Regions from separate parts of the Homo sapiens genome. Here region 2 is linked to region 1. Evidence: promoter capture Hi-C in human tissues and cell types (Jung and others, 2019). All regions are on one chromosome and are shown on one strand. The core of a region is centred on a gene start or on the middle of the fragment in contact, and the rest is flanking DNA. Distances in the headings are between cores, read along the strand shown.

Region 1 (3,993 bases), core at 986-3,485:
GTTGAGCTCCACTGTTGAGCTCCACAACAGTGGAATCTTATTTATCTCCGTCTTCCCAGTTCACTGCTGGTACACAGGAGCTTAGGAAATCAGACTTCCCCCATAGTTCAACTTTGAGTGCTCTGTTCTTCATCCAAACAAAGTGCATGTATAGTGTCTTGAAATGTTCTGTCTTTTCCAATTTCCTCCCATTCTGTTCACTCAAATTGCCTTCCCTACCAAACCTCATCCATGGAAATCCTACTTATTTACTGCTTTACTATTTACTTATTTACTACAAGACACTGCTTTATTCCTAAACTTACTCATGAATTTCCCCTGAATATTTGCTTCACCTTTCCCTCTCCTAAATTACATGTCAGTGTTTCTGAGTTTCTTATTCCAGACTTCCACACTATAGGACTTTTTTTTTTTAGTGTACTTGTCATATCCCCTTTTCAAGGAGAGGTTCTGAGTTCTTATCAATTCATTACCTAGTATATAATGAGTGTTCAACCCCTGGTTAAAGAACAAAATGAGACAGAAAACTGGCAATGCACTTTATTAGAATATGCTCGAAGGTCATTTTAAGGATCAAGAAACCAAAAGGAAGAAGATGTATATCTCATCACCTTAGTTTATTAGACTAGGTTGAGAAGCAAGTGAAAACGAAATTGTATTTGATTTATGTAGACTGTGTCTTCAGGCTTGGGAAATTTTCTATTATTGTAACATAGTCTTGAAGAGTCAGTGCAAGTGTTGCTGGCTTTGGACGAGGTGGCTTTGTAATTTTTTTACATGCTTCCAGTTCCTTGATATTGAGGCAACAGTATCTCCCATTTTCACATAGTGCCTCAGGCACTTCATTTACTCTGCAGATTTTCCTGCAATGTCCTTGTACATAGTTATTCCAGCACTTCTTAAGTTGTTCGGTTACTATACACAGAAAGGAGCAATAGAACAATATCAGTGTTTGAGACTGAAGGCACGTTGGTTTTGGGGAAGACAGAGGAGGCTTGTAGGAATTAGGGGTATGGGGTATCCACAAGGCAGACCCTCATATATTCTGAAGAGGATTTTCCGACAAGGTCAACCTCAGTGTTTGTATTTAACTGGATCACTTATATTTAGGTCCTGTGAGGTTTTAGGCCTCCCTTAACATCTGATAGACTCTGCCAAGAACATAAGATCTTATCTGAGAAAATAAAGGAGCTGAACCCTTGATTCTAGGCTATGGAACTATGCTCTACATAGGAACCTCAGCAAATCTGCCTGCATCCTGAATGCTCCCAGAGCACTACCTTCTACTGCACCTCCTCTGATGCCCAGAGAACAATGTATTGTTACTATGTGTTTATGTCTGAATCAAACTGTTCTCCTGAGTTCAAACCCACTATCAGGGTCAAGAATGACTTTCATGTTATCCAGTAAGGTAGTAGTCTATTGGGTCTTAGGAATGTAGAGGGTCAGGAATAGGCCATTACTATTCTTATAATAAGGGACACATGTAAGAAATCTGGTTTTGAAAGAGGAAAGGAAACTCTAATTTTTGAGTTCTCAGTATGTGCCAAGCTTCACATAGGTTATATCATTTAATAAAACCCCTGTTAACCAGGTGTCATTATCTCCATAGATGAGGAAACTGAGGCTCCTAGAGTCTTCACTACTTAAAGTTGACAAACTAGTAGATATTGAAGGCATGTTTCTTAAACCTAACTCCAAAATTTGCTTCTTCCTCTATTCATGCACACACACACACACACACACACACACACACATATATATATTTGAGTAAAAGGAAATATAGCTGAGCATCAGAGTAAAAACCATATCCAAAGACATAAAGGTATCCCTAGATATTGGCATCATTCCTTTCTATAACAACACATCTTTCCCAGAAGAAATTATGACCTCTTTTTAGCTCAGTGAGTACTCCTCTTTAAGGATAGTAACATGGAATAAGGCTCCAGAAAGAGGAAATTTCTGATGATGTTGGATAAACTTTAGCCATCTTTGGGGGCTCTATTTCCCTTTAGTGTGGATTATGAAGTTCCCTTTGGCTCCTGAAAATGCTCCATCCCACTGTTGATTTGAGTGAGCTTCTGGTTTGGTTTACCTGTGGGTTTCTGGAACAGCAGAATTGCAATGATCATGAAGAGCCCCATGGCCAGGCTTTCCAGAAGAGGTGCAGCCAAAGCTTTTGGTCCAGTGAACTGCACACTATGCTACCTTCCTCAGAGACTTAGATTCTTATGCACTGAACCAGAACAGATGGGATGATATGAAGTGTGTCCTTAAGCTTCTGAACTGTGAGCTTTGCATCATGCAGGCAGACACAGGAAATTTCAGGCCACCCACTTTACCCCCACATGGAATAGAGATACAGCATGTTCCATCCCATCGCACCAAATGCCGCTGTGTAGGCTGTAGACTGCTGGGAAGAATCTGTGATTTTCCTGCTTTGACTCTCTGCGCAGCCGGACCAAGATCGAAATGTACTCACCTCCAAGAATGAATGTGGCAGTATAAACCAGGACATAAATCTGAAACTCTAACAATAAGAATTTCTAGTAGGTTTCTTGCACATTTCGAAAGAAGGTATGATGTAGTTGGGTCTGATCTGAGGTCACCTGATTTTTTATAAAAGCACCAAGAACATACACTGGGGAAAGGATACCCTCTTCAATAAATCATGCTGGAGAAACTGGATTTCCATGTGCAGAAGAATATATATTATGTATATATATATGTACACACATATATACATATATATGCACACAATGGAATACTATACATACATAACACACAATGGAATATATATATATATATATACACACACACACACAATGGAATACTATTCACCCATAAAAATAATGAAATTCTGTCCTTTGCAACAACATGGATAGCCTGGAGGACATTATGTTATGTGAAATGTCAGGCACAGAAAGATTACCACATGTTCCTATTTATATATGGGAGCTAAAAAAGTTGAGCACATGGAAGTAGAGAGTAGTGTTGCAGATATTAATATTAGAGGCTGGTAATGATTAGGGAGAGGGGAGGATGGAGAGAGATTGGCTAATGGATGCAAAATTATAGATAGGAGGAATGACTTCTGGTGTTGTAGCACTGTAAGGTGAATATGGTTAACTACAATTTATTGTATACTTTTAAAAGGCTAGAAGAGAGGATTTTGAATGTTCCCAATACAAATGATAAATGTTTGAGGTGACGGATATGCTAATTACCCTGGTTTGATCATTACACATTATATGCATGTATTGAAATATCACTTTGTATCCTATAAATAAGTACAATTATGTGTCAACTAAAAATAAAAGGAAAAATGGCTAAAATGGCCAATGTTATGTCATATATTTTACCACAATTAGAAGAAAAAGATGCATGAGGGTATTTTTTTTCTACCAGTTGTACCTTGTCTTTGAAAATATTAAAATGTTGCCACAAGGAATCGATGTTTACCTAGATCATTCTTTGATCATTGATTGCAGTTTTCAAAAAATTTCAACCCTGTTAACCACTGAGATGCATTAAATAAATAAGCCAGTTGGCTTAGAGATGAGCCCTATGGCCATTATTCAGGTCACGTAGTGGTTTTACACAAGAATATGTTTAAACAGAGAGATGTTGACATATAAGAAATCCTTTTTAGAGGCAAATGTAAATTTAAGAGCAGTTACCTCAGAGGTCTCAAGGGTCACCTCCCTTTACTTTTGCCACCAGCTTTTACATGGTTTAAGTCCTAGTCAAGGGATTGGTTTTATTATTTATAGTCTTCCTGTGAATGCAAACTTTCCTTATAGGTGACTTGGTGGTGGAGCATCAAATAAAGACCCTAAGTCTGAGCAGTCAGGAGAAATACAAAAAGCCTTCCTATTAAAGTTGTATTTCTGAAGCTGGATGTTAAATTAGTAATAATAAATATAAGGATAGGAATGGGTCCTAAGAGCAAGGACAAATTTTTAATAAAACAAATAAAAATAAAATTATAAT
Region 2 (3,915 bases), core at 190-2,689, 83 kb before region 1:
GGGACAGAGCTACCTGTGTCACTTGTCTGGAGCTACATTTATTGGCCTTAGATGAGATCAAAAGTTGGGCAGTGAGCCAGGGATGAAGTAGAAATCTCTGCTATTAGGGTGAATAGATTTTGTTACTCTAAGTGGTTATTGCTTAAATTGACTGAGCACTCACAGAATGCACAGAAAATTAGCACCAGTCTTTGGAAATGCATTTTCTAGCTACTGCTGGCATGGGTGAGGCAACATAAGAAAAACTGTGTACTGTTCCTGGGAGGGCAATTTGTCAATATATAGCCCATGTCTAAAACAAAATTAAATGAAACTCTGCTTGCCCTTTGACCCAAAATAATGCACATAGCATAAAAGAATATGTTCATGAAGGTGCAAGAACTATATTGCCTTCTTAGCATTACTCATAGTGAGAATGTGAAAAGTAAGCTAAATGTCTATCAATAGAGAATCTGCTAATTTATGGCACTTAACACATTAGAATTCCATTTAAACAATGATGATAATTGAGGACTATCCTTATTATATAAAAGACTGTCAGTGATATCTTAGGTAGAAAAGAAAAATGACAGGAAAGCGTGGGTAGTATAAGCTAGTCTTTGTTATATATGTATACATGTAAAATATATATACATATAATTTGTGTATTCTCTGGAAGGATATATACAAAAATTTAATGGTCTTTCTCTTTGGGAAAGATTTTGTTATTCTTATTTTATCTTCCATAAAGTTTTCTGTTTTGTCTGAGTGTTCAAAATGACTATAAGTAACCTCATAATCAGAAAAAGTTAATTAAGCTATTTCCATGTATGGAAAATATCTTTTCTGAAAAGTTTTGAGATGAGTATATTCATATAGAAATATTGGCTTTCTTTCCTGATTAATACAAAAGATTGATTGGCTTGCCAAATCAGAATCAGGGGAATCAGAGATCTTTCCCAGCATTAAGCTTTAGTAATAATTTCAAGGATACGGGTAATTACGAAGCAGGTAAAAATGCAAAAGTCTGGGATGTCCACACCACTTCCCAGGTCCTTTCTTGCCTCATGAAAATAAGCCATGGGATAGGTTTAACATGAAAGATCTCTAAGTGATGTCTGTGATGCATGGGTGCCCATCAGCTACCCAAAGGGGCTATTTTAGCTAGAAACATCTCCATTTTATTCTCTGGCAATTACTTAGCATTACAAACACATGACATTTTTCAAGGAGCCATGCCCTGTAAATTCATAGACTCTAAGTTTGTTTACCAGAAGCAATTGAGGACTGAGCAGATGCATTCTGCTACATAAAGACCCCTCTGCTAGTGAATATCATTAGCATATTTACCAGAAGGTCTCTTATTAGCATGTTATAAGGAGATCTGACAGAGTCAGAGTCAAGTTTTTTTTTTTTTTTTTTCTTTCCTGCCAGAAGTATCTCCTGTTAAAGGGAGAGAATTGATTTCAGGACTACTGTTAACTCTTTCCTTCTCATCTCTTAAAATGCAAAGGTATTCCCAATGAATTTCTGACTTATATGTGTGTGTTTCTTAATGGAATTTTTTTTAGGACTTTCATTATCATAGCTTTTGTATCTGTGCTCTAATTCTAATTTCTTTTACAGTGTGGGAGCCAAAAATAAAGGCAATAATCTAAGTGTGAACTTTTCAGGCCGCTTACATTTGGCAATTGCAGGAGCTGTCCAAATCCTTCAGGATTAGGAAATCCTTTAGAATAGGGATATTCACCACTCCTCCTTATACTGGGTCACCAGTAATATCGAGACTTCTATAGCTTCTTCCAAACTTTTTTTTTTTTTTTTGAGACGAAGTCTCACTCTGTCACCCAGGCTGGAGTGCAGTGGCGTGATCTTGGCTCACTGCAACCTCTGCTTCTCAGGTTCAAGCAATTCTCCTGCCTCAGCCTCCTGAGTAGCTGGGATTACAGGTGCATGCCACCATGCCTGGCTAATTTTTTGTATTTTTAGTAGAGATGGGGTTTCACCATGTTAGCCAGGATGGTCTCGATCTCCTGACCTCGTGATCTGCCTGCCTAGGCCTCCCAAAGTGCTGGGATTACAGGTGTGAGCCGCCACGCCTGGCCTCTTCCAAACCATTTCTAAGAGTATGAAATAAGCTTATCCATGTAGATCCTTTATGATATAACTGGCATTAGGTACATGCACCAAAGCTGTTGCCAGTGAGAGTCAAGGAAGCATAGCACTTAAGCGTAGGGTCTCTGATATGATGAGACATGGGTTCCAATCCTGATTCTACTGCTTATCTGTGAACTTCAGCAACTTAAGTTAAACTTTCAGTTGTATTATTTATATAAAGTCTATGGGGTTGTTTTAAGGACTAAATGAGATAATATACTCAAGGTTCCCAGTACTGTATCTGGCTCTTAAAAATGCCCTGTAACTCAAATATTTGCATTATTAATATTGGTTTTTTTTTGTTGTTGTTTTTGACAGAGTCTCGTTTTGTCTCCCAGGCTGGAGTGCAGTGGCGTGATCTCGGCTCACTGTAACTTCCACCTCCCAGGTTCAAATGATTCACCTGCCTCAGCCTCCTGGGTAGCTGGGACTACAGGCGCATGCCACCGCACCTGGTCTGCTTTTCTATACATCTTCCTCCAGGTTGCTATTCTTTCCTTAATCCTCTTTGGCATTGTCATGGAGCACTTATTAACTCATTGGGCTGCCTTTGAATCAAAACTCTGTTTATTGATCTTGTTCAGCAGGATCAATTTTCAGGTTCACTGAGAGCATCAGTGATTAAGCCGTAAAGATGTGGAACCCATGGTTATAAGAGGTTCTTCGTTATGGATGCGTGGTCTCTCTAGAGACAAGGTGATCTGACTGTTACGTGGGGCATAATCATGTGGTAGTTTTTAGGGCTGTGCTGAAACACTGAAATCCAGAAGAGACTATAGAGAGCTGAAAGCACGGTGCATCCCATTCCCTCTCTTTGCTCAGACCCACACAACAGAGAGGAAACAGTAGCCAACAGTATCTATGATAACTAGTCGTGTGCTTTTTCTTTTTTTTTTTCTTTTGAGATGGAGTCTAGCTCTGTCACCCAGGCTAGAGTGCAGTGGTGTGATCTCAGCTCACTGCAACCTCCGCCTCCCATGTTCAAGCGATTCTCCTGCCTCAACCTCCTGAGTAGCTGGGACTACAGGTGCGCACCACCACACCTAGCTAATTTTTGTATTTTTAGTAGAGACGGGGGTCTCACCATGTTGGCCAGGCTGGTCTTGAACTCCTGACCTTGTGTTCCACCCACCTCGGCCTCCCAAAGTGCTGGGATTATCATTTTGTCTTACGTTTTTGCCATAATTTGGACCCACAGGAAGCTTGATAATTTTATTAGCACACAGAGTATCACACAGGTATACAATGTGCTGATAAGATCTGGTGAAGATAAAGTAGTTTCTTGCTACAAGCCAGAAGATTCAGCAAAACCCCCATGAAACAACAAAGACTTCCATTTCAGCAAGGTTGCAGTGGATCCACAGTCTATGGTTCAAAGAGATAGAAAATTTGCTTCTTCTTGCACAATTACAACCTTCGGCCCTCTTCGAATTTTGGAGGCATATTGTGTGATCTTAGGTAACTTAATCTCTTCAAGCCTCAGTTTCATCATCTGTCAAATTGAGATAATTGTCCATTCATAATAGGGCTGTTTAAAGACTAGAGAAGGTGATTCATGTAAATAATTTGGCACAGGGCTGGCTTATAGGAAGTGTCTTATAGCAATTTTTTCTGAAGATAAACTTCCTCTAAGTTGCTGAAATGAAAACGAAACAGCTGAATCCTATTGACTCAGAAGCATAGTTTGTAAAACACTTTATCTTGAAAATGTTTTGAGATGAGTATATTCACACAGAAATATTTGATTTCTTTCCCAATTAACACAAATGATTGATTGGC

What was found. Contacts are between HindIII fragments. The study calls those that stand out against the background at their distance.
Region 2: a contact is called between a fragment that was not itself captured here and the fragment with the promoter of DEFB127 in region 1, in 3 of the 25 tissues and cell types used here (aorta, dorsolateral prefrontal cortex and lymphoblastoid cells).

The regions. Positions count from the first base shown.
Region 1 is chr20:155,696-159,688 of GRCh38, reverse strand. It overlaps DEFB127 (defensin beta 127), which reads right to left and starts at 2,235. Exons shown (of 2, transcript NM_139074.4): 1 at 2,096-2,235; 2 at 526-915. The coding sequence starts at 2,144. The coding sequence ends at 665. The HindIII fragment of the contact is 9,888 bases long and covers 1,865-3,993 here.
Region 2 is chr20:237,964-241,878 of GRCh38, reverse strand. No RefSeq gene overlaps it. Among named protein-coding and RNA genes, the nearest start is that of DEFB129, 13 kb to the right of the region's middle. The HindIII fragment of the contact is 4,422 bases long and covers 1-3,650 here.